Regions from separate parts of the Homo sapiens genome. Here all the other regions are linked to region 4. The links are contacts of gene promoters, found by promoter capture Hi-C in blood cells and fetal thymus (Javierre and others, 2016). All regions are on one chromosome and are shown on one strand. The core of a region is centred on a gene start or on the middle of the fragment in contact, and the rest is flanking DNA. Distances in the headings are between cores, read along the strand shown.

The links. The method cuts DNA at HindIII sites, captures the fragments that hold promoters and counts their contacts. A CHiCAGO score of 5 or more calls a contact.
Region 1: a contact is called between the fragment with the promoter of OSGEPL1-AS1 here and the fragment with the promoter of ITGAV in region 4, in 1 of 17 cell types (M0 macrophages). The highest score is 6.1, in M0 macrophages.
Region 2: the fragment with the promoter of MFSD6 here is called in contact with the fragment with the promoter of ITGAV in region 4 in 2 of 17 cell types (M0 macrophages and non-activated CD4 T cells); the score reaches 9.8 in M0 macrophages.
Region 3: a fragment that was not itself captured here is called in contact with the fragment with the promoter of ITGAV in region 4 in 1 of 17 cell types (activated CD4 T cells); the score reaches 6.2 in activated CD4 T cells.
Region 5: a fragment that was not itself captured here is called in contact with the fragment with the promoter of ITGAV in region 4 in 2 of 17 cell types (total CD4 T cells and non-activated CD4 T cells); the score reaches 8.6 in total CD4 T cells.

Annotation. Positions count from the first base shown.
Region 1 is chr2:189,761,529-189,764,228 of GRCh38, reverse strand. It overlaps OSGEPL1-AS1 (OSGEPL1 antisense RNA 1), which reads right to left and starts at 1,449. Exons shown (of 2, transcript NR_102429.1): 1 at 1,237-1,449. It overlaps OSGEPL1 (O-sialoglycoprotein endopeptidase like 1), which reads left to right and starts at 1,437. Exons shown (of 9, transcript NM_022353.3): 1 at 1,437-1,544; 2 at 2,569-2,700. The coding sequence starts at 2,589. It also overlaps a transcript of ANKAR not described here and a transcript of ORMDL1 not described here. RefSeq lists enhancers at 762-1,508, 1,795-1,954. The HindIII fragment of the contact is 3,776 bases long and covers 1,362-2,700 here.
Region 2 is chr2:190,407,080-190,409,779 of GRCh38, reverse strand. MFSD6 (major facilitator superfamily domain containing 6) reads right to left here and starts at 1,425. Exons shown (of 8, transcript NM_017694.4): 1 at 1,277-1,425. RefSeq lists a silencer at 805-1,844 and an enhancer at 2,105-2,154. The HindIII fragment of the contact is 2,674 bases long and covers 1-2,665 here.
Region 3 is chr2:183,120,262-183,122,961 of GRCh38, reverse strand. It overlaps a transcript of NUP35 not described here. Among named protein-coding and RNA genes, the nearest start is that of NUP35, 2.8 kb to the left of the region's middle. The HindIII fragment of the contact is 2,711 bases long and covers 95-2,700 here.
Region 4 is chr2:186,588,606-186,591,305 of GRCh38, reverse strand. It overlaps ITGAV (integrin subunit alpha V), which reads right to left and starts at 1,250. Exons shown (of 30, transcript NM_002210.5): 1 at 783-1,250. The coding sequence starts at 967. It overlaps LOC124906105 (a long non-coding RNA gene), which reads left to right and starts at 1,410. Exons shown (of 2, transcript XR_007087465.1): 1 at 1,410-2,316. RefSeq lists an enhancer at 768-827 and a silencer at 958-1,187. The HindIII fragment of the contact is 2,158 bases long and covers 1-1,659 here.
Region 5 is chr2:183,143,878-183,146,577 of GRCh38, reverse strand. The region is part of intron 4 of NUP35 (nucleoporin 35); the gene reads right to left. Among named protein-coding and RNA genes, the nearest start is that of NUP35, 21 kb to the right of the region's middle. The HindIII fragment of the contact is 2,224 bases long and covers 177-2,400 here.

The sequences.
Region 1 (2,700 bases), core at 200-2,699, 3.2 Mb before region 4:
TCTCTAACCGTATGACTAATTTTTCTTAACTTTTAGGTTTTAATTTTTCTTTTTTCCCTTGTTTAGGCCAACAGTGCACCCTAGAGAAAATGTGAGTTATTTTCTCTTCTAGCAGTTAAGAAAACAGACTCCAGTGCCAGATGTCCTGACTTCTAATCCTAGCTTTGCTTTTCCTAGTTGTGTGACCTCCAAAGCACCCAAACTCTGTGGCCCAGTTGCCTGTAAAATGAGGACAGAAACTATTTCATGGGATTTTGAAAGAAATTAATCTACAGCAGGTGCCTGGTACATAGTGCCACTTTATCATTATTGTTACACATAAATGAAATTTTTGAAAAACATAAGTTCCAAATAAAAAACCTCAACCATATTCTGGTAATTATTTACTTATTTATCTGTATCCACCTCTAGACTGTACTCTGTGGCTTCCCAACATGTTGTTATGGGATTTACTCATCTTTTATACCCAGAGCTTCACAACGTGCAAAGTGCAGGTATATATGCCAGCCCTGTACAACAGTGGATTCTAAGGTCCTTGCTTACTAAAATCTTAAATACCAGCAGGGGAAAAGCCTGACTCTTGGAATAAATCTGTCCAATGTTCAAAACAAAGTTCACAAACCAATAAAAGAAAAAAAAAAAAAAAAGCAGGTGCAAGACTTTGAAAACATACCATGCTGAATTTCATGTACATAGTAAGGAAGGACAACATAATGCATTATGAAAATAGGATGGTTTAAGGCAACTGAATATTTACCACAGCCTTTTTTTTTTTTTTTTTTTTTTTTTTGAGACAGAGTCTCGCTCTGTAGCTCAGGCTGGAGTGCAGTGGCGCGATCTCGGCTCACTGCTACCTCCGCCTCCCGGGTCCCAGTTCAAGCAGTTCTCCTGCCTCAGTCTCCCGATTTTTTTTTTTTTTAATTGTAAAAATAAGCCAGCCCCTTTCTTCCTAGTGAAGTGGGAGAAACGGTTTACACTGTCCGATGAGAAACACTTCCGTTCTTTGGTAACCCTGCTAGGGGGCGCCGCTAGATTCCATCCTATTTCTCCGATGAAAGTATCAGGTACCTCACCCCTAAGTTTAGATTTGATGATAGTTCCCTTAAAAATGAATGACGAATAATCTACCCCATCCTTTTCTCACAGTAGCAACCAAATTCCAGCCAAGGGCAAAAAAAAAATTTCTTTTTAATGTAGCTTAGTGTTTGGAACTTGATGTTGTGTAGTCAGACAAACCTGTATTCGGCCTCCGCTGGATCAGTCACTAGCTGTGTAATTTTACAGAACTCTCATCACCTGCAAATCTGGGGGAAATGCAGGTGCGCACAGAGAGCGTTTTGGGCAAAGACGGCCTTTAAGCTTTTCTTCACTAAGCATGCCGCTCGCTAGCGGAACAGCAGCCAGCTCTGGACGGGACCTTGCACAGTTCCGATGACATCACTTCCGGGCGCCAGGTTCGGGCTTTCTCCTGCAGCGATAAGGGCAGTCGACAGTCTTTAGTAGGGAAAGGAGACAAGTGCTAGCTACTGCCGCCCAAGTGGAAGGTGGGTGAAATTGCTCACTCTTCACCCCACTGACGCTTTTGCGCACCTGGAAAAGCGGTTCCAGTTTGCGCCCGTCGCCGCCTTACAGCCGACAGGAGACCAGCGCTACCCAAGTCACGTGGGTTCAGCCTGCAGCTTTCTTGGCCCGAAAGGGTAGTGCTTCGTACAATCCTCCTTGTCCAGATTTTGTTAATGCAAATCTAATTCCTCTAGGTTGTGTCTGTCTGGGCTGCACTGCCCGCAACTGCCTTCTGCAAATAGGTCGCTCATCTCTAATCCCTGGGATGCCGTGTCCCTTTAGTGTGGTGGAGAAAGGCCCTGCTTTAACACCCAGAAAGTTTTAGAACGGATGATCTGGGGGCATAAAATTAGGTGCTTCGCAGTGTGAAAATACTAGTGTGCTTTAGTGATGGGCTGCTATTATTTTGGGGGAAAAGGATTTGGGAAGATCCTTGTTATGACAAAACCTGTAGCAAAAAGTGGAGATTTAATTCCAAAGATTGCAATTAAGGATAAAATAGGTGTTAGGTTGCAGTTGGCGTGTGTGTGTTTATGTTAACTCTTGTTTTTGAACCAAATGATCCAGTTTTATTTTGAAAGATGTTTTTAGGAGATGGAATACATTAACAGTATTTTTATCTGTTCCATCTGCCTTTGTTGTTTGATTCTTTTTAGAAAATCCACATTTTGTCTTAATTTTAGCTGTCAAAAAATAAATAGCACTTTTCAGAGGACTCTATCAATTATTGTACTTTATATTAGCTGTCTTAATAGTAAGTCTTTTGGTAGGAACAGCATGCAAGTAATAATAATACTAAAAAATTTTATATCTGACCCCTGTTTTCCCCCTTGGAGAACATTATATTCATTCATAATATTATTTATATTCCCATGTTGCTATAGCCTTTACAAACTTTTGGTGACTTTTACAAACTTTCCTGTAATTCTGTAAAACTATATATTGAAAAATAAGCTGGCTAATGTCAGTTGCAAATAATAAGTTGTTTCTGTAATTCTTTTTCAGGAATTATCTATAGAGTAAGTATGCTAATCTTGACTAAGACTGCAGGAGTTTTTTTTAAACCATCAAAAAGGAAAGTTTATGAATTTTTAAGAAGTTTTAATTTTCATCCTGGAACACTATTTCTTCATAAAA
Region 2 (2,700 bases), core at 176-2,675, 3.8 Mb before region 4:
GGAGGATCCTATCCTTTTACTTAACAAGGCTAAAACAGATGCATACACTTTTAGCTGGCTAGTGCCCACATCTTGGGGAAAGGACCTACCAAGTACACATCTCCTTTTATTACATATTTTAGTCAACTGTATGTCCACCCACCCTTCACATTCATCTATACTTAAGAGGTTAGATTTCTAGAAAATCATGGACTTCTAGAAGGATTAGGGGAAATTTTGGCCACTATAATATCCAACCATCCTCTTTTCCATGTGAGAAAACTGGGGCTCAGGAAGATGTGACATGCCCAAGCACACACATCTATTTAAATACCAGTTGGGATTAGAACCCCAACTCTTTAAGTCTTTTGCACACTAATAAGCAAGGTATTATATGTTCCAGTAGTTCTGTGAGGTGCTTATTCAATCTTTTTGGGATGAAAAGAAACGTCCGTGGTTGCGAATGCATAAAGGTAATTAACCCACCTGTCTGTCCATGTGGGGATGGGATTAACGAGGGGGAAAGTTGCGTTTGTATTTTTCCACCATCTTACCTAAATTTGCAGGAAAATTGCTCTATGGGCAATAAATATGACCCAGAAAGACTAGCAACCCCCAGTAGTATCTCAAAAGGGCTCCAGAGACATGTTAGACCAAGTGGAAGTAAAGCACGAGGTGGGGGATGTCTGCTAGGATGGTGGCTGGCAGAGCAGAGGTATTTTTTTTTCCGTATTTATTAACCTGGGAGGGCAGACGTTGTCAATTTCCTCCTCCTGCCACACAAGTGGCCGCGTCCTTGTCACTGGGGCTGTGTGGAGGTTCTCACCTCCTCCTTTTTCCCAGGGATGTTTATGGCGAGGGCGCGGGTCGGCCCGGGCGGAGGAGGACCCGGGCATCGGCGCTCACCCTCCGTCCCCACCCGCGGCAGCAGCTGTGGGCGCCCGGCGAGGGCTCCCTGGGCAGCGCCTTTGTTTTCCCGACTCCAGTTACGTTTGCGGAAGTGCTGCCAGCACGGGGCGCGCTGGGGGCGCAGGCGGCAGCCTCCCCCAGCACCCCACAAAGATGACACCCGACACGGAAGCCGGGGGAGGGAGGGAGGGAGGGAGCGGCGGGCGAGCGAGGCCCGAGCGGAGACAGCGGCGCACGCTGGGCTCCGAGCCCCGGCCCCGAAGCCCCTTTCCCGGCAGCAGGTGTGCGCGGCTGAGGTGCCTACCCGCCCTCCGGCTGGGCCCGTGCGGGGCGGGGGAGGCCAGGGCGGGTCTGCGAGCCCCTTCTCCGCAAGCCGGGCCCGACTCACCTGCTGCGGCGGCGGCAGCGCTCAGCTGCGCGGGGCGCGGGGAGCCCTGTCCCCGGAGCACGGGGCGGCGGCTCGGGGCGCCGGGGCGGCGGCTGTCGGGGCAGCGCGCACCATCCCGGGCTGCTCGCGCGCTCCTCCGGGGCTGCGACGGGCTGGGCGGGGCGCGGCGAGGCGAGGCGAGGGATGCGGACCGGGTGGGGCCACGGAGGACGGAGGCGGAGGGCCCAGCGCTCCCGCCGGCGCGACCTTCTCTCCCGCTGCGGCTCCTCCTCCTCCCCGGCCCCGGCCTCACAGTCGCCGCCGCCGGTCACTACCGGCTGGACCCGTTTCAGGGCCGGGCGCTGAGGACCGGCCGCCAGGTGCAGCGCTCCGCCTCCTGCGGCGGCGGCGGATGCGTCGACTGCCCGCTCCCGGCCTCCAGCCCGCCCCGGCGGCCCGGAGGGACACCTGAACCCAGCCGGGCCCGGGGAGCACGCTGAGGAGGCGAAAGCACTGGGCGAGGCTCCATCCCTACCGCACCCTCCACCCCCCCGCACCCCCAAGCGACTTCCGCTGAGCCCCCAGGCAATGAGTGCGGGCCAGGAAATGTGGGGGAAAATGTACTAACATCCCTTATTCCTTGAGCGCCTTTTAAGTGGCACACACAATGCTAATGCTGTCAGTGCGTTATCTCCGCGTCTGTCCCAGGTTGACCCGGGAGGGAGGAGCCGGCGGGGTGCGGGAGACAAACGATCTGTGAGTTTCGGGGCTCACCAAGAAGGGGGAACACTGAGACGAAGGCACCCTTTTTCAGGAAGCTGCTACTGGCATCTTGCTGAAAAGCCAACCGTGTGTGTCGCACTAAGAATATAATTAAAGTTGTATTTCTAGTTAAACACGCAGAGAGTTGGGGGAGAGTGGAGTATTCACTTGGCAAGTATGTCTGTGTGCCTGTGATGGGCTTTGGGGGATGCCACATCCTGTTCTTAAGGAGTTTATTGTCTTGTTCTGGCAACAACGACAAGAGTGACAATGGTAGCTAACGGCAACAACGACAAGAGTGACAATGGTAGCTAACGCTTATAAACATCGATTATGTACGGGGCACTGTGTAGGTACTCTTTGAGCCTTATAACCCTATAGGTGTAGGAAACGTTATTCCCATTTTACAACTGAGGAAAGCCGAGGCTGAAAGTTAATGTGACCCATCCAAAGTTACTAAACAGCGAAAGGGAAAGCAGGCTTCTTTTGTCTCCAGGCTTTAAGCTCTTAACCGTGAAATCATACTGGTAAGAATTTGATAGGCCCTGAAGTTTCTGAATTTTGAGTCCCTCTTTAGGAAGAATAAAACAATTACAAATACGAAGTTTCTAGGGCCCCTTCCTGAGCTTATGAAGGGTCTCTGAAGCTTAAACTATAGTAGCCTCATGCTAAATCCACTTTCA
Region 3 (2,700 bases), core at 201-2,700, 3.5 Mb after region 4:
ACTATTTCAATATTCAGTAGAGGTGATTAAGTTAATAATCACATCTTCAAAATACCTTTTGCCATATAAGGTAACATTCACAGATTCTAAAGCTTAGTGTATGGATATCTTTGGGGAGTAGTCAGCCCACAACACAGGGCAATCCACTTTTTAGAATTAAGCTACCAAGAAAGGTATATCAATGTATAAATTTCTACACACATTGAGGCTAGATGTGGTGGCTCACACCTGCAATCCCAGCACCTTGGGAGGCTGAGGGGTTGATCACTTGAGTCCAGGAGTTTGAGATAGTGAGACCCCACTTCTCTACAAAATAAAAAAGAAATTTCTATACAAATTATGATCTAGCCAAACAAAAGAACACTATACAACAACTAAAATGAATTAGATGGATTTGATATGAGTGTAAATATTAACCTAGAAAGACCTCTGTGATAGATATAATGAAAAAAAGTAATTTGAAAACATGCATGCATATACGGCACCATTTTTATTTAATAACGGGTTTATTTAGGAACAGATGCAGAGAAAGAGAAAAGAGTGATACTTCTTTAAATAAAAGAAGATGTTGAAAAAGATTTGCACCAGCCGGGCATGGTGGCTCATGCCTGTAATCCCAGCACTTTGGGAGGCCAAGGCGGGCGGATCACGAGGTCAGGAGTTCCAGACCAGCCTGGCCAACATGGTGAAACCCCATCTCTACTAAAAAATACAAAAATTATCCGGGCATGGTGGCACATGCCTGTAATCCCAGCTACTTGGGAGGCTGAGGCAGGAGAATCGCTTGAACCCAGGAGGTGGAGGTTGCAGTGAGCCAAGACCATGCCACTGCACTCCAGCCTGGCGACAGAGCGAGACTCTGTGTCCAAAAAAAAAAAAGAAAAGAAAAAGAAAAAGATTTGCACCAAACTATTAACAGTAAAGTAGAAAAGGGTTTGTAAATTGGAGGATTTAAGAATGGCCTTTACACATGTATACATATGTAACAAACCTGCACGTTGTGCACATGTACCCTAGAACTTAAAGTATAATAATAATAATAATAAAAAGAATGGCCTTTAACTTATTTTATACAATTTTGTGGTTGATGACAGGTGTTATTGCTATTTTATTTATTTATTTATTTATTTTGAGATGTAGTCTCGCTCTGTCACCAGGCTGGAGTGCAGTGACACGATCTCAGCTCTGGCACTCCACTGCAACCTCCACTGATTCCCCTGCCTCAGTCTCCCGAGTAGCTGGGAGTACAGGCGCATGCCACCACACCCAACTCATTTTTTTTTTTGAATTTTAGTACAGACAGGGTTTTACCATGTTGGCCAGGATGGTCTCGATCTCCTGACCTCATGATCCACCTGCCTCAGCCTCCCAAAGAGCTGGGATTACAGGTGTGAGCCACCGCGCCCAGCCCTATTTTCTTTACTTTTTAAATTAAAAACTTTTTTCCATTAAGACATTTATTTTCTTTTCTTTACCTGCATTTCAATCTTTTACCCTTTCAACAGGCTCTTTCCTTACCAAGCTATAAAGAAGCCCAGAATTGAAACCCTCCCTAGGCCTTGCTCCTCCACCTACCTACCATGTGCTAATTTCTCTCTCATTTCATTTTTTCAAAATCTCAAAAGAAGTGTCTATAGATTTTAGTAAATTATCTGTTTCCCTATCTTTACTATTTTGATTTTTAATTAATTGCAGATTGGCTCCTGTGTAATGCTCTTCCGAAATAAAACTACTGACCCCAACTATTTTTTTTTTCTAATTGCCAAATTAGACCTGCCTCCTTGACATCTGCAGTATCCAACAGCTTTGACAATCTTTTCCTAAGTACAAGTGTTTTCTTTATTTTTGGTGATGCTACACTTCCTATTTCTCATAACTTCCTACTCCTTTTCTGGTTTTTCAATAATTGATCCCATTTTTTTTCTAACCTGGGAATATTATTGATGTTCAAGCCTTTGCTCTCTCCTTTCTTTTTCAACTCTTAGTGGTCTCCCTTGGAATCCTTATCATTGTCACCCTGTGCAAATAATTTTTAATAATCTATACCCAACATCTCTAAAGCCAAATGCCACTTTTCCAGATGCTTGCTGCACAACCTACCCGTACATCAAACCTCAAAAGCAAGCTCATCTTTTGTCTTTTTCTTTCCATCTCTTAGAAACTCAAAATTGAATTCATAGTGCATTAGCAGAATTTAGAGTCAGACGAACCTCAATTCAGAGCCCAACTCTCTCACTAAAACCTATATAACTTGGATTTGTATTTGATTTCTAGATTATATTGTTTGTAAAATAGAAACAATACCTACTTTGAAAAATGGTTATTCTTAGTACAGTGTCTGCTCCACTTTGTTTTTTCTGACATTCACCTTCTCTACCATCAAACATTGAGATATTCTTTCTGCCTCTTCAATTCCTATACAATTGCAGTCAACTCCTTACATCTCCCTGCCTTCAGTTTCTCCCACCAAGCCTAACACACCAGTAGCCAAAACTTTCTTTTTTTTTTTTTTTTTTGAGACGGAGTCTCACTCTGTCATCCAGGCTGGAGTACAGTGGAGCGATCTCAGGTTACTGCAACATCTGCCTCCCGTGTTCAAGAAATTCTCCTGCCTCAGGCTCCCGAGTAGCTGGGATTACAGGTGTACACCGCCACACCCGGCTACTTTTTGTATTTTTAGTAGAGACAGGGTTTTGCCAT
Region 4 (2,700 bases), core at 1-2,500:
GACGGCCCTTGCAACGCGGAACGTTGGCAACTTGAAAACATAACTGAATTATTAAATACTGCAGTATTCAAATGACCTGCAGCGAGTGAAAACTCAGCAAACACCCTTGTTCCTTCTGAACAATGACCTAAATAGTGAATCACTATAAAAAGAACAGATGACACATTCAATTCATCTGTTCAACCTCAAATGTGCAAATGTCTGACAGTCCCAGAGATAAGACACAATGAATTCAATAGGACAGTATGGTCATTTTAAGTCATCAGAATGTCTGCAAAAGGAGTAAGGAGAAACAGAATCAGACAGAGGCGGAAAGAGTGGGGGAGGGCTTGTTTAGGGAGACTGAAAAGGACGGGCGTTAAGCCTGTAAAGCAGAAAAAGGCTACCAAGAAGCCTAACTGGTAGAGGAGAAAAAGAAGTTCGGGGATGATATTGACCAAATCCTCGACACTGGCACAGGAGGCGGGGAGTCCGGCAAGACCAGCCTTTGTTGATTTCCCACTTTCCCCGATTTTTAAGCACAGGTCTGCTTCAAAGCTCTCCCGCTGCCCCTAACCAATTTTAAGAGGTGAGAAGCGGGGTGTAACTGGGTGATGGGTACCAAAGGGAGTTCATTTCCCCAAATATTTCCTCCACCCAGGATATAAACCACTCTGAGAGGTAGGATGGGTGAGACAGACAGACGCCGGGATCTCTCGGAAATCAATCCCAATGGAGAAACGCTGGGTGGGTGCGCGCGGTGGGGGAGGGGGCCGGCTCCAGTTCCAAGTGCGGCCACTTACGAAGACGCGCTGGGCACGAAGAAATCCACGGCGAAGCCGAAGTAACTTCCCTCGGGGCCAGAGTACTCGGCAGGACTGTCCACGTCTAGGTTGAAGGCGCGGCACAGAGGTAGCAGGAGTCCCGAGAGAAGAAGCGGGAGGCCGCGGGGACCGAGGCGCAGCCGTCGCCGCGGCGGAAAAGCCATCGCCGAAGTGCGCGCGGGACGCCAAGCCGGGAGCGGTAGCCACCTCCCCCCGCCCCAGCGAGGCGCCCAGTGCCCGCGGCCCGCCGCCTGCGCGCGCCCAAACTTGCCGGCCGCTCTCTTCTCGGCTAGCCCGGGACAGCTCCGGGGCAGGCAAGAGGGCTGAGCTTCGGAGCGACCGCCAGGGACGAGGGGCGCAGAGCGCGCGGGGCGGGGACAGCAGCGCAGACGGTCCTTTGCTTCCCTCCGGCTCCGCCGCTCCACGCAGCGTCTGAGGCTGGGGACTGCCGGGGTGAGCGCCGCACCTCAGGCCTGAGAGCCGCGGCGGCACTGGGAGGAGACCTGGAAGGAGGAGGAGCCGGCCCGGGAGGCTGCTGTGGAGCTGGAGGAGGAAGTGGGGGAGGAGAGGCGCCCTTCTACAGGGGAGAGCTCAGCGTACTTCCGTGAGTGCAGTCGCCGCCTGTCCCGAGACCTGGGCGTCTGTGCAGGGGCCCCCAGCTCCTGAGCCTGGGTCAGCGGCAGCGCTCCTGGACGAAGGCCTCAGGCTGAGCACCTGAGGAGGCGTGGGGGCGGGGGCGGGGAGATACGGTCCAGCGTCCCAATCTACCCGCGTCCACGGGAGTAGCAAGGGCACCCACGTTCCCTTGTCCCGCCGGGAACTTCCGTGCGACTGTTGTTTAAAAATGAGGAAAGCTTTTTATCAGTTTCTCGTGTTTCTGCTGCTTAGCCTGGCAGGCTCTCACGAACGAAACCCTGTTAATTAATGGTCGTTAATTACACTCCATTCCACAAACACTGAACTTAATTACGGATTTCCAGAAAGCCAGCATAGCCTCTTGCAAGTGAGGTATGTAAAGCTTAACTTAGTAGTCAAAGAAAGGATTCGCAGGGCAAAGAATTGGCAGTGATCGTTTTAAATCAAGTCAGAATAATCGAAGCCTTATTCCCAGTTTGTTAGCTGCGGTTGTATGATTTAGAAACACTGATTTGTTGATTTAGGATGTTTGGATAGACATAATTTCAGAGCTGGAAGAAGGACCGCACACCGGTGAAATAAGGCCCCGCGTGCTTGTTTGCCACTGGTGTGTTTCATCAAGCCTTGACAACACTGGACTGAGAGAGAGGGCCTTGAGGACAGGAACCTTGACCTTTTTCTTAGTGTTCTTATTTCTAGCACCTTGCCAAGCAGATAGTAGTCGATCAATAAAATGTCCAATCAGTGAATGAATAGCAGACGAAATGAGCAAAGTGCCCAGAGAAGTGACTCTTCCATATTTCAAGTGTTTCATGTGCTACAGAATCTGTTGAACAAGGTGAAGTTTAAGTGCATTGTGTGGACTTACAACTTACAAGTAAGTACTGGAACAGTAATTTCTGTTTTCCCAAAGTAACTATTAAAACTCAATCATAATATACATTAATAACTATCAAATAATCCTGTGAAAGGATATGTATATAAATGAAAGTGAAATGCCTAATTCGAATTTGTAATATTTATTGGACCAGGTCCAGGTGCTCATGCTGGCAATCTCAGCACTTTGGGAGACTGAGGCAGGAGGATTGCTTGAGACCGGGAGTTCCAGGGGAACATAGGGAGACCTCATCTCTACAAAAATTTAAAAATTAGCTGGGAGTGTGGTGCATGCCTGTAGTCCCAGCTATGCCGGAGGCTAAGGCAGGTAGATAGATCGCTTAGGCTCAGGAGTTCCAGGTTATGATAAGTCATGAGCCTGCCA
Region 5 (2,700 bases), core at 39-2,538, 3.4 Mb after region 4:
GATAAGGCTGCAGAGGGAACCCTTATATGCTGTTGGTGGGAGTGTAAATTAGTTCAGCCTCAACAGAAAGCGGTTTGGAGATTTGTAGAACTCAAAATAGCAGTACTATTTGAACATCTTGTTGTCTAGTAAGGTCTAGAATAGTGTTCTGGATAAAATATATTCTTCAATAAGCTTAATAGATGTGAGGTGATCTGAAAAATATTTTTCCTAAAGGAAAGTGTACATTAATAGGTTAAATTAGATTAGTTCTAGTTTCTAAATTTGAATTCAAAGGAGTCTAGGAACTCAAATTGTTTAGCAACCCTAAAGAAGTAAGATTTTTGAAATACTTTTTTTTTTGAGACAGAGTCTCACTCTATTGCCCAGGCTGGAGTGCAGTGGCACGATCTCAGCCCACTGCAACCTCCGCCTCCTGGGTTCAAGCGTTTCTCCTGTCTCAGCTTCTGGAGTAGTTGGGATTACAGGTGTGTGCCACCACACCCAGTTAATTTTTGTATTTTTAATAGAGACGAGGTTTCACCAGGTTGGCCAGGCTGGTCTCGAACTCCTGACCTCAGGTGATCCACCTGCCTTGGCCTCCCAAAGTGCTGCAATTCCAAGCGTGAGCTACCATGCACAGCAGATTTTTGAAATTCTTAAGTGATTATATTTTTTCTTTTCAGTTAGAATGATATTATTGCATTGTAGTTTTTACTTGATAACTCTTTTGATCCTGTCCAGGCTGTAGTTTTGTTTTGATATCATTTGGAGGCAAGACATGGACATCATTCCTAGAAGTCTGTTAGACTTGACTTTATAAATTAATATTTGTGCTGTAATTGAAGTTATGTATTACTAACAACAGTTAACTTTTTAAAGTTCTTGTCTATTGTCCCATTTTATTGTTGGAGTAACACCTAAGTCTTGTGTTAAGGTTCATTATAGATGTAATAACTAAGTAATATTTATTAAACTTTTAAAAATTCTCTTTCAGGTAATCTTCAACTATACTGGATAGCTTTTTATTTGTACAAATGTATGGGGTACATGTGGAGGAATACTAAAGTACATCATCCTATAATACATTTAACAATTTACTTCCCTCATCACCACAGAAGCATTTAATAGGTATAGGCTGAGTATCCCAAATCTGTAAATACAAAATCCAAAATGTTCCAAAACGTGTAACTTTTGGAGCACCAGCATAACACTCAAAGGAAATTTCAGATTTTCAATGCTCAACTGATAAGTATAATGCAAATATTCCAAAATCTGAAACTCTTCTGGTCCTAAGCAGTTCTGCTAAGGGATATTCAACCTGTTCAATACATTTCTAAAATAAGTCTGATTTAGAATGAAACATCCCACTTTGACAAGTGCTGTTATATTTTTAAGAATCTACTTATCAACTAAGTTACCAACTATTGCTTTAGTAAGTGGAAGCATATATTTATACAAAAGATACTCTTAACTAATTTTAGTTACTACAAAGACATTCCATTAACAAACTGAAGACAGTAAAAGGCATTTAATCTGAAGCCAATCCAAATTTTCTACAGTCTACAAGTATTACCATTAAGAAGATAAAATTTAGTTATGCTACATCATGTAATAATCTTCAAGCAAGAAATTAAATGAAGGTTCGAATTGTGACAACCGTTACAACCTTTAAAAATAAAACAAATCAAAAATAAGTCTCAAACGAATAAGCAATCTAATTTTTGCCCTGTCAACTACTCTGAAAAATATAATTACTTATACATAATCTAAAACTATTTACATAACTTTAGCATAATTGCCCCCCACCTAGTTAATGTTTAATTGCTCCACTAATTTTACTTCCTTTCAATCAGACTTCTGATGCCCACATGCCATGCTTTGTAAGATGAAAATAAAGTGTGCCTATCAAACCACATCAAATCGGACTGCAATGTGTCTCCCTGAGTAAATCACTATTCAAACATTCTTCCTAAGACTGGATTAAAGCAGAGGGCAAAAGACCTTATTACCCTTTATGAAAATGTCTTCAATTAAAAGAAAGATTCAATTATTTCAAAATAGACCACTAACCTAAATGAAAACAAAAGAGATTAAAAGACTAGTAAATTTTAAATAGATACGAGCCAAATGAAACTTGGAAAAAAGAGGTTCCTGGCGGTGTTAACTTCTTATCATGAAACAAAGTAGCACAATATGTAATAAGGGATTTGGTCTCTGCTCAACAAGAGGAGGAAGACTGGAGACTGAACTCAACCACCTGATTGGTAATTCAATCATGCCTATGTAATGAAACTCCAATAAAAACTGTGGACATAGATGCTCCAGTGAGCTTCCCTAGTTGGTAGTACTCCATGTATATTGCCATACATTGACGCTGGGAGGATAACACATCTCCCTGAAGACAATGGAAAGGAAGCTTCACATTTGGAACCCTTTCCAACGTCACCCTATGTGTCTTCCTTTGGCTGGCTCTAATTTGTTTCTTTTTGCTGTAATAAAACTGTAACCATGAGCACAGCACTTTCAGTGAGGTTGTGAGTCTTTCTAGTAAACTACCAAACATTACAAGCAGCCTTGGTAACCTCTTAATTTATAGACAGCTGGTCTAAAGTGATCATCCCAAACTTAACAGCTAGTATCTGAAGTAAGGATAATCTTATAAGGACTATTTAATCAGACTTTGCAGTATGGCACACACATTATACCGAAAAAGCATAT